3 separate regions of the Homo sapiens genome follow, and regions 1 and 3 are each linked to region 2. The links are contacts of gene promoters, found by promoter capture Hi-C in human tissues and cell types (Jung and others, 2019). All regions are on one chromosome and are shown on one strand. The core of a region is centred on a gene start or on the middle of the fragment in contact, and the rest is flanking DNA. Distances in the headings are between cores, read along the strand shown.

What was found. The method cuts DNA at HindIII sites, captures the fragments that hold promoters and counts their contacts. A contact is called where the count stands out against the background at its distance.
Region 1: a contact is called between a fragment that was not itself captured here and the fragment with the promoter of RNF17 in region 2, in 4 of the 25 tissues and cell types used here (H1 embryonic stem cells, IMR-90 fibroblasts, heart left ventricle and 1 more).
Region 3: a fragment that was not itself captured here is called in contact with the fragment with the promoter of RNF17 in region 2 in 2 of the 25 tissues and cell types used here (H1 embryonic stem cells and mesendoderm cells).

What each region holds. Positions count from the first base shown.
Region 1 is chr13:24,968,735-24,972,086 of GRCh38, reverse strand. No RefSeq gene overlaps it. Among named protein-coding and RNA genes, the nearest start is that of CPAP, 48 kb to the right of the region's middle. RefSeq lists an enhancer at 1,585-2,492. The HindIII fragment of the contact is 4,516 bases long and covers 1-3,352 here.
Region 2 is chr13:24,762,367-24,766,140 of GRCh38, reverse strand. It overlaps RNF17 (ring finger protein 17), which reads right to left and starts at 1,972. Exons shown (of 36, transcript NM_031277.3): 1 at 1,808-1,972. The coding sequence starts at 1,937. The HindIII fragment of the contact is 17,753 bases long and covers 1-3,774 here.
Region 3 is chr13:24,893,301-24,896,913 of GRCh38, reverse strand. The region is part of intron 9 of CPAP (centrosome assembly and centriole elongation protein); the gene reads left to right. Among named protein-coding and RNA genes, the nearest start is that of CPAP, 28 kb to the left of the region's middle. RefSeq lists an enhancer at 2,238-3,156. The HindIII fragment of the contact is 7,479 bases long and covers 1-3,613 here.

The DNA.
Region 1 (3,352 bases), core at 671-3,170, 210 kb before region 2:
TTAGGATAGTTAAGGCTTCTTGTTGAATTGAACTCCGTATCATTATGTAATGCTCTTCTTTGTCCTTTTTTACTATTGTTGGTTTAAAGCTTGTTTTATCTGTTTTAGGAATAGTGACCCCTGCTCTTTTTTGTGTTTTGTTTGTGTGACAGATCTTTCTTCAACCCTTTACTTTGAACCTATTGGTGTTGTTACATGTGAGATGGGTCTCTTGAAGACAGCAGACAGATGGGTTTTGTTTTTTTAATCCAACTTGCCACTCTGTGACTTTATTTATTTATTTATTTATTTATTTATTTATTTATTTCAGAATCTCACTCTGTCATCAGGCTAGAGTGCAGTGGCATGATATTGGCTCACTGCAACCTCTGACTCCCAGGTTCAAGTGATTCTCCTGCCTCAGCCTCCTGAGTAGCTGGGATTATAGGCATGTGCCATCACGCCTGGCTAATTTTTATATTTTTAGTAGAGACAGGGTTTCACCACATTGGCCAGGATGGTCTCGATCTCCTGACCTTGTGATCTGCCTGCTTTGGCCTCCCAAAGTGCTGGGATTACAGGAATAGCCACCGCACCCAGCCCACTCTGTGACTTTTAAGTGGTGTGTTTACATTCAAGGTTACTATTGACATGTGAGCTTTTCACCCTATCATGAAATTGTTAGCTGGTTTTTTTGTACTTTCTATTGTATGGTTGTTTTATAGGGTCTGTGAGCTGTGTACTTAAGTGTGTTTTTATGATAGCAGGTATCATTCTTTCATTTCCATGTTTAGAACTCCCTTAGGCATCTCTTGTAAGACTGGTCTAGTGGTAATGAACTCTCTTGGCATTTGCTTCTCTAGAAAAATGTTTTTATGCTCCCTCTCCCTCTCCCTCTCTTTCCACGGTCTCCCTCTCCCTCTCCCTCTCTTTCCACGGTCTCCCTCTCATGCCGAGCCGAAGCTGGACTGTGCTGCTGCCATCTCGGCTCACTGCAACCTCCCTGCCTGATTCTCCTGCCTCAGCCTGCCCAGTGCCTGCGATTGCAGGCGCGCGCCGCCACGCCTGACGGGTTTTCGTATTTTTTTGGTGGAGACGGGGTTTCGCTGTGTTGGCCGGGCTGGTCTCCAGCTCCTAACCGCGAGTGATCCGCCAGCCTCGGCCTCCCGAGGTGCTGGGATTGCAGATGGAGTCTCGTTAACTCAGTGCTCAATGGTGCCCAGGCTGGAGTGCAGTGGCGTGATCTCGGCTACAACCTCCACCTCCCAGCCGCCTGCCTTGGCCCCCCAAAGTGCCGAGATTGCAGCCTCTGCCCGGCCGCTACCCCGTCTGGGAAGTGAGGTGCGTCTCTGCCTGGCCACCCATTGTCTGGGATGTGAGGAGCCCCTCTGCCTGGCTGCCCAGTCTGGAAAGTGAGGAGCGTCTCTGCCCGGCCGCCATCCCATCTAGGAAGTGAGGAGCGCCTCTTCCCGGCCGCCATCCCATCTAGGAAGTGAGGAGCGTCTCTGCCCGGCCGCCCATCGTCTGAGATGTGGGGAGCGCCTCTGCCCCGCTGCCCCGTCTGAGAAGTGAGGAGACCCTCCGCCCGGCAGCCGCCCCATCTGAGAAGTGAGGAGCCCCTCCGCCCGGCTGCCACCCCGTCTGGGAAGTGAGGAGCGTCTCCGCCCGGCAGCCACCCCGTCCGGAAGGGAGGTGGGGGGGTCAGCCCCCCGCCAGGCGAGACGCCCCGTCCGGGAGGGAGGTGGGGGGGTCAGCCCCCCGCCCGGCCAGCCGCCCCGTCCGGGAGGGAGGTAGGGGGGGGTCAGCCCCCTGCCCGGCCAGCCGCCCCGTCCGGGAGGTGAGGGGCGCCTCTGCCCGGCCACCCCTACTGGAAAGTGAGGAGCCCCTCTGCCCGGCCACCACCCCGTCTGGGAGGTGTACCCAACAGCTCATTGAGAACGGGCCATGATGACAGTGGCGGTTTTGTGGAATAGAAAAGGGGGAAAGGTGGGGAAAAGATTGAGAAATCGGATGGTTGCTGTGTCTGTGTAGAAAGAAGTAGACATGGGAGACTTTTCATTTTGTTCTGTACTAAGAAAAATTCTTCTGCCTTTGGATCCTGTTGATCTGTGACCTTACCCCCAACCCTGTGCTCTCTGAAACATGTGCTGTGTCCACTCAGGGTTAAATGGATTAAGGGCGGTGCAAGATGTGCTTTGTTAAACAGATGCTTGAAGGCAGCATACTCGTTAAGAGTCATCACCATTCCCTAATCTCAAGTACCCAGGGACACACACACTCTGCCTAGGAAAACCAGAGACCTTTGTTCACTTGTTTATCTGCTGACCTTCCCTCCACTATTGTCCTATGACCCTGCCAAATCCCCCTCTGCGAGAAACACCCAAGAATGATCAATAAAAAAAAATAAATAAAAAATAAATTTAAAAAAAAAAAAAAGAAAAATGTTTTTATTTCTCCTTCACTCATGAAGCTTAGTTTGGCAGGATATGAATCTGTTGATTATAATTTATTTTCTTTAACAATTCTGAAAATAGATCCCTCAATCTCTCCTGGCTTCTAAGGTTTCTGCTGAGAAGTCTGCTGTTATCCTGATGGGGCTACCTTTGTATGTGATCTGGCCTTTTTCTCCAGTGCCTTTAGGGCTTTTTCTTTGACAGTGACCTTGGACAGTCTGGTGAGTATATGCCTTGGTAATGTTCATTTTTTATAGTATCTCACAGGTGCTGTCTGGCTTTATTGTACTTAGATGTCTATCTAGCAAGATTCAATAAATTTTCTTGAATTATTCCATCAAATATGTTTTCCAGGCTGTTTTCTTTTTCTGTTTCTCTCTAGGGCATGCCAGTAATTCGTAGGTTTGATCACTTTACATAATCTCATATTTCTGACTTTCTTCACTTTTAAAAAATCTTTTTTCTTTATCTTTGTCTGACTGGATTAGTTCAAAAGACCAGTCTTCAAGCTCTGAAATTATGTTTTCTACTTTGTCCAGTCTATTGATAAAGCTTTCAGTTGTATTTTGAAGTTCCTTAAGTGAGTTTTTTTAATTCTAGAAGTTCTGATTGATTTCTTATTAAGATGTTTATCTCTTCCTTCATTTCCTGGATTGATGTAGAAGTTTCTTTTTGTTGATTTCAACCTTGAATCTCATTGAGCTTCCTTGCAACCCAAGCTTTGAAATGTTTATTGTCATCTCTGAGTTTTCATTTTGGCACGAAGCATTGCCAGAGAGCTAGTGTGATCCTTTGGTAGTGTCACTACATTCAGATTTCTCATGGTGCCAGAATTCTTGCGTGGGTCCCTCTCATCTGGAGATGCTAGCACTTCTAATTTGTGTAATTATTTTTGTTTGGGTAGGATTTTTTCTTTTTCT
Region 2 (3,774 bases), core at 723-3,222:
CTCCTGCCTCGGCCTCCGGAGTAGCTGAGATTACAGGTGTGCGTCAGCACGCCTAGCTAATTTTTTTGTATTTTTAGTAGAGATGGGATTTCACCATGTTGCCTAGGCTGGTCTTGATCTCCCGACCTCAAGTGATCCGCCCACCTCGGCCTCCCAAAGTGCTGGGACTATAGGCGTGAGCCACTGTGCCCGGCCTTGCATTAATTGTATTTTTTAAAAACTTTACAAGTTTCCTATCCAACTGAAATACCTGAAACTTGCTTACAACCATGCTAAATTTTAAAACCCTATTTAACTTCCAGGGATAATATTGCCAAAGAAATAAAAACACTTAACTATTATAAAATTTCTGATACTGAATAACTCAAAATAACTTGTGGTGAATTACAGCTTAAAAAGCACTTTCAGGATTCTATATACATAACCACTACTTCTCCAGTTTAGTTTTTCTAAGCATTATAATACTAATGTATGGAAGAAGTACTCATTTTAAAAGGTTGTGTTCTAGAACTTTATTCCGTAATTTTAATTTCATTCAAAAATGGAAATTTTCTACGTAACGGTAGCAGTGATCTAAACCCCAAGTAGGAGAAACTTGGTTCTCCACTGAAATCACAACTTTTTCTGCAGAGGCTCACATCTCACAGAGTCCATCTTGCCAAGACTGAGAAAACTGATCGAATGACCTTAACTTTGAAAGTATAAACATTAAACAGTTACGCCAGGTAATACGAATTTTCAGTAGCTCCAGGAATTGAGATTCAACAACTCAGCTGTATTAAGAGCACACTAAGGTATTTTAAGTTACATTAAAATAACTTGAACCGGCCGGGCGCGGTGGCTCACGCCTGTAATCCCAGCACTTTGGGAGGCCAAGACGGGCGGATCACGAGGTCAGGAGATCGAGACCATCCTGGCTAACACGGTGAAACCCTGTCTCTACTAAATATACAAAAAATTAGCCGGGCGTGGTGGCGGGCGCCTGTAGTCCCAGCTACTCCAGAGGCTGAGACAGGAGAATGGCGTGAACCTGGGAGGCGGAGCTTGCAGTGAGCCGAGATCGCGCCACTGCACTCCAGCCTGGGCTACAGAGCGAGACTCCAACTCAAAGAAAAAAATAATAATAAATAACTTGAACCTGTGATCACTTGAGTAGATTGTAGGTGAACAGACCAATAATAGTGCAGTGTATTTTTCCCCTCACGTATAAAGACCAACACACACACACACACACACACACACACACACACACCCCACAAGGTGCACAAAAGAAACTATCATTTTCCAAACAGTGTTTTAGGCCAGTGTGAGCCATAATGTAAAAAACAAACAAAAAAACCCCCACAGAAACAACAAAATGCTAACAACAACAACAAAATCCAAAACCATTTCACAATGGTCTACTTGTTACTCCTACAACAAAAACTACAGGAGAAAATCAAGTTTCGTTCCTTCTTGATGACAAAACAATGGGCTACATTTTATGTCTACTTTTGCATGCACCCGCTAACCTGCCTTGTGAGGAGTAGATTAAAGCCACCCGGGCCCCCATCCTCCCGGCTGGAGGGTCGGTGAGGCCTGGATGGGTAATTGGAGAAAGCCGTGACAGGCGCAGGTGCTGCCCTTAACCAACCCAAGCACTGCCCTCTTAGAGGTCGGGTGCAGCTCGCGGGAGGCCTGTGACGCAGTTTCTGGTGACACCAGGATTGGATGCAGCTGACCAAGCCTCACGCGCCCACCAGCTCACCTGGCCCCCAGCGCTCCCTCCAGGCTGCCTCCCCGCTAGGTGGGCCCTTGGGCTCCTCACCGGATGATCTGGATACCCTCCTTCCACACCTGGTGCACTGGATTTCAGCGGCACCCCAGGGCTGACTCTTCCTCCCCATTCGCTGGTAGGAAGACCTAGAAGGCCCAGTCTTCGAAGCCTCTGCCGCCATCGCTGTCTCTTTCTTCTGGAACAACCGCCGAGTGCGAGTCCCGGCGGCCCTCGCGGCAGCGACCAATCATTGGAGGCCAGCCCCTGCAGATAGCCAAACAGTGGGCCGGGAGATTAAAGCCCGCCCCCAAGCTCGCTCCTGATGGGGCTGGGGCTGTTTTCCGTTATCCTGGGAGGTACCACTCCTAGAAGGGGCGCCTTGTGGCCGTTGAGGACCGTTCGTTTTTACGTTCTACCCAAAGAGTCACCACTTTAGTGCTTTTAGTCATCACAAATTAAAATTTCGCATATTATTACTTACATTGTGAGTGACTTTATAGATAATCATTTGGATTGAAACAATCCCCTTTCCCTATTACGTGTCAGGGCCAGAAGCCCTAAACCTGTGTGCTTCGGGCATCCAGGGCTTGGCCAATAGCAGCTGGAGTGGAGAAGCTAATGAGAAGCTATCGTTGGGGTAGATTCAGTGAACGCTTTCGAATTAAGGAGTGTTCATCATTACTAACTGCTGTTGAGCCTAATAATATACAAGGCAGCGTGCCAAGAGTGGTTGGGGATGCTAAGAATTTATGAACTAGCAGGTTTCTGCTTGAGAGATACATAACTCCTTAAAAAAACCCAGTAACTTCCGCCAAAATAAGTGTTATGTACCGGACCTGTGTTAGAGACAGTAAGAATTAGCCTTCTGGGCCCGGCGCGGTGGCTCACGCCTGTAATGCCAGCACTTTGGGAGGCCAGGGCGGGCAGATCACGAGGTCAGGAGATCGAGACCATCCTGGCTAACATGGTGAAACCCTGTCTCTACTAAAAATACAAAAAAAAAAAAAAAAAAAAATTAGCCGGACGTGGCGGTGGGCGCCTGTAGTTCCAGCTACTTGGGAGGCTGAGGCAGGAGAATGGCGTGAACCTGGGAGGCGGAGCTTGCAGTGAGCCGAGATCATACCACTGCACTCCAGTCTGGGCGACAGAGCGAGACTGCGTCTCAAAAAAAAAAAAAAAAGAGTTGAAGCAACTTGTCCAAGCATAGTTCACAAAAAGCAATGAAGAAATGAAGTCAATATGGTCTACGGTGGTATGAAAACTCTTCGTAGAGGATATAGGGTTTGCACTAGACCTTACAACCTAGGTAGTACTTACAGGAGTAAACAAGAACTAAGGGATTCCAAGAATAAAGAACACATCAGCGAGGGAAGGTAGATGTGAGGGAAGGTAGATGGAAGACACAGTGACTTCTTGAGAATTTAAAGACCATTTAGCCAGAGTATGAGTTTCCTTAAAGTAAGCTTCTTTGGAGAGGTGTGTCAGGGAAGAATTTCGGAGAATCTCGAGTGTAAGGCTGAGGAGTTTGGACTTTACTCTTTAAGCAGTAGAGTGCATGAGACGTTTTGTGAGCAAGGAATGAAGTAATCTAGTAGAAAGGTGGCAGGTGTATTTCAAACAAAACACCTGGAGGTGGCACGGTTGCCTTTTGCTGCTAAGAATAAAGCCTGCCCATATTCCTCATTTTCTTTTCTCTCTACACTGTGTGTGGGTAACTAGAAACTGTGAAGTAAGTATTCTCTTGAAAGGCTCACTTCGGCTCAAAAATCTTTGTAATTTGTTGTCTTCGAGAGAAAAGTACTGCTTCCCTAAATTACCCTCATTCTACTACTCATCCAATAGTTTCCACTACTAATCCATGATGGAACTGAGTACTAATCAAGCCAATATTCTCATGTAACATGTTGACTCTTCTACAGTTTTGTGAGTATTATTCCCTATTCCCCTCATCTGGAATACCTACTGTTCACTCTTCATCAATTCATATTCTCTTTTTTTTTTTTTTTTTTTTTTTTAGA
Region 3 (3,613 bases), core at 728-3,227, 130 kb before region 2:
CAAATTCTGCTATCAGAAAACTTCACTAAATTAAAAACCATAGCCTAAAATACATGATGGGTTTGTCATTTCATTTTTCTTTCTGGATCTCCTAGGATTAGAGATAACCTTGCTGTGTTATGAAAATCTTACCAGATCCAAAGGGAAAAAATAAATAACCTCCTTAGACCACACAAGGTTGTGAGATTGATTGCTTTTTTTCCTTCTCTTTCTCATAGCTCTGATCCTGACTACTTCTTCCAAGGATTCAAACCAGAGCAAACACACTTCTTTTTGTTGTTGTACTTTGTTAGATGAATAACGTGGGTTTTCTTTTCTTGCAACTTGATGCCTTTCCCTCACAAGATGTGTCCTCTGATTCTCAGGCTCTGCAGTCCAGGCTGCTAGCTCTTATCCCTGTGTGGCTATTTCCATTTAAATTAATTAGAGGTAAATTGAAAATTCAGTTTCTCATTCCCATTAGCTACATTTCCAGGACTTAGTAGTAGCCACCTGTGGCTGGCTGGTGGCTGCCACACTGCACCATGCAGGACTGGGCACATCCTCACTGCTGGCAGCTCTGGGCTGTGCCCATTCAAGGGGCTTGTTGGGTGGCAAGGGGCTGGGCTGGTGAGTTGCCGTCCCTCTTCAGGAACTCATTCTTGAACTCTCGCCTTTGTTCGTTTATATGACTTCTGGTGTTGATTGAAGTTTGGACCCTGTTCGTACTTGGTTATCATGTGTAACCCTGGGTATTCATTATTTCTTGCTGGTTTTGGTGCAGTTCCTTTTCTTCCTTACACCATTTGGCTTATTCATAGTTCCCCGTATTTACCTTTCTTTTTACTTCTGTGCAAAAATATACTTTAAAAACAGATATATACTTAATAGAAAACAAACCTATGTTTATTGATACTCTATTAAATCATCAAAAAATTAAGGAGAGGGCATATTTAACCTTCCTTTACATTACAGTTATGTTGAAAAATATTAACTATTTTATTTTGGGTATTCATTCAGCAAATTTATTGAGAACCCCTTATGTACTAGACACTTGTAATCATTGAGGAATTGATGAGTTAGCAATTTCTGCCCTCCTGGAATTTATATTAATCATTACTGAGTCATAGCTTTTCACACACTCAGGTTACTCTAATTAATTATAAAATTTCCATTTTGATATTTAAGTGGTCCCAACTTGACCAGTGGGGGAGCCCCTTTAAGTCCATGGCTCCCTTGCCATTTAGTGCTGCCCTTGGCGTTTTGAGAGCACTGCTTTCTGGAACAACGGGTTATTTAAGACTGTTTGGTTTTGGCTTTCTTTCTTTATTTCCTTTCTTTCCTTCCTTTTTTTCTTTTCTTTTCTTTCTTTTCTTTCTTGACGGAGTCTCACGCTGTCACCCAGGCTGGAGTGCAGTGGCCGGCCCCTCCCGGCTTCACGCCATTCTCCTGCCTCAGCCTCCCCAGTAGCTGGGACTACAGGCACCCGCCACCACGCCCGGCTAATTTTTTTTTGTATTTTTAGTAGAGACGGGGTTTCACCGTGTTAGCCAGGATGGTCTTGATCTCCTGACCTTGTGATCCGCCCGTCTCAGCCTCCCAAAGTGCTGGGATTACAGGCGTGAGCCACCACACCCGGCCTTGGCTTTCTTTTTTAAACCTGCTCGGGGTCTGGCATCTACTGCGCTGCAAGGAGCCGGGCTCCTCCGGGGCTGCTCTGAGCGTAGAGCCTGTGGAGGTTGACAGAGCCGGCTGCGCCTTCCGCAGGTGCGGAGTCCCCTCGGCCTTCCCTGCCCTGGCTTCTGCGCTTTCTTCCCGTTTTCACGGCGCTGGCTCTCAGCCGTGCTCACCGGGACCTGGCAGCCGCCTCTGCCTGAGCCTTGCCCGCGGGACGTGGAGGCCTTGCCTCTGAGCTTTCGCGCTGCGCTGGAAGTCTGCGCCCCAGCCGCGGATCCCACCCGCCAGCCAGGCCTGCTGGCTTCACCCCGCAGGTCGTTTCCTCCTGCCAGTTTCCCCTCCCGGCTCCTCTCCCGTCTGTCTGGGTCTGGACCCTCACCAGTCCCCCAGCCTAGGGGCTCCCCTCTCTTCCTCTCCCCCATCCCCAGGGTCTCTGCTGGCTGGCTGCGGCCTCTCCCTCCCTTTGCACCCCGAGGGCGTGTCATCCTCCACCCACTCCATCCCCGTGTCCCGCCCACGGAGCCCACCCTCCGCCTCCGCCTTCTGTCTCCTCCGCGCGTTCTGCCCCCAGCCTTCCCATCCTTACCGCTGGCTGGCATTTCTTTAAACAAAACTCACTCAACCCCACAGCCCTATCTGTTTTTTCCTTTGCAGCAAAACTCCTTAAAAGCCTTGCCCATATTCACTGTGCCTGGATCTCCAAATCTCACCAGCTGTTTTCGCCACACGCCCTGCAGCGCGGCCTCCGGTCATTCTATGGCACTGACACGGCCCCTGTGGAGCCACTGTGAACCCCCAGGCCTCATCGCGGCCGTCTGCCAGTGTCCATCCTGGTGCCGTCTTCCCCTGTGCTTGGGCCAGAGGCCTCGAATCATTCTCGAGGCTTCTCTTGCTCTTCCATTCCTTGCTGTTCTGACAGAAAGTCCACTCAGATTCCAGTTGCCACCTCTGGGTTAATGACTTGCTGGCGGCTTGGCCTCCGCTCTTACCCCGTCCCTGTGGCGTCGCTCCACGTGACAACGGATCCCCTTCGCTCAGACACCTCCATATGCCTCTGCTTTCCTTCCTCCAAGAACCTCAGTCCCTATGTGACTGGGCCTTTTTTCCCCTTCCTGTCCCTGGCCAGTCCTCCTGCCATTTACTTGTCATCTGCGCTGGTCCCTTGTAGTGCTGGCACTGTGCCAGGCACCCTCCTGTTGCTTCCCACACGCGCTGCCTCCCCCAGCTCTGTTCAGTGACACCCAGCACGTGTCATCCTGCCTCCCCACACAGCCCCGCCACCTTACCTGCCCTGGCCACTCTCCCGTCACCCCCTCACCTGCCCCAGCCACTCTCCCATCACCCTCCCACTGTCCCCGGCAGAGTGAGCCTCATGAGATGGAGCTTTGTTCTTAGTATAATAAGGGCCTGTGACAGTGCCTGATAACAGATATTTTGTAAATATTAATTGCTCTTGAATTCTGAACCCATTTAGACTTGTATTTTACCATTTTCATATTAAATCCATATTCCTGCATGATAAAAGTGCTTACCAGAAATTTTTCTTTTATTGGTCATAATCCGTCTCACAAATGGGAAACCTGATATTCATGGAGGTTGTGGATCTTACCTTGTTTTAAGCATTCAAGTCAGAAAACTCGGATGTGAACCTTGATGTCACCCAATCCAAAGTCCACACCCTCTGTGGTGGGGCCCAGATGTCCTCTCCATCCTCACCAGGCTGCCGTGTGGCTGCCGCAGGGATTACTGAGGTGCAGGGGCATGGGCCGGGCCGCACCTGCTGCCTCACCACTGATGGGCTTCGGTGCCCTGCTCCTTCCTCGACTCTAGGTCAGTCGCTATCACTTGCAGCTGCACGTGATCTCGAATTGCTTCTAGACATTTCCAGCATATTCTTCCCTTATTTTAGTCTTTCTAAAACAACTCATTTTTCTGGAAATTTATTTCTTCTCATGAA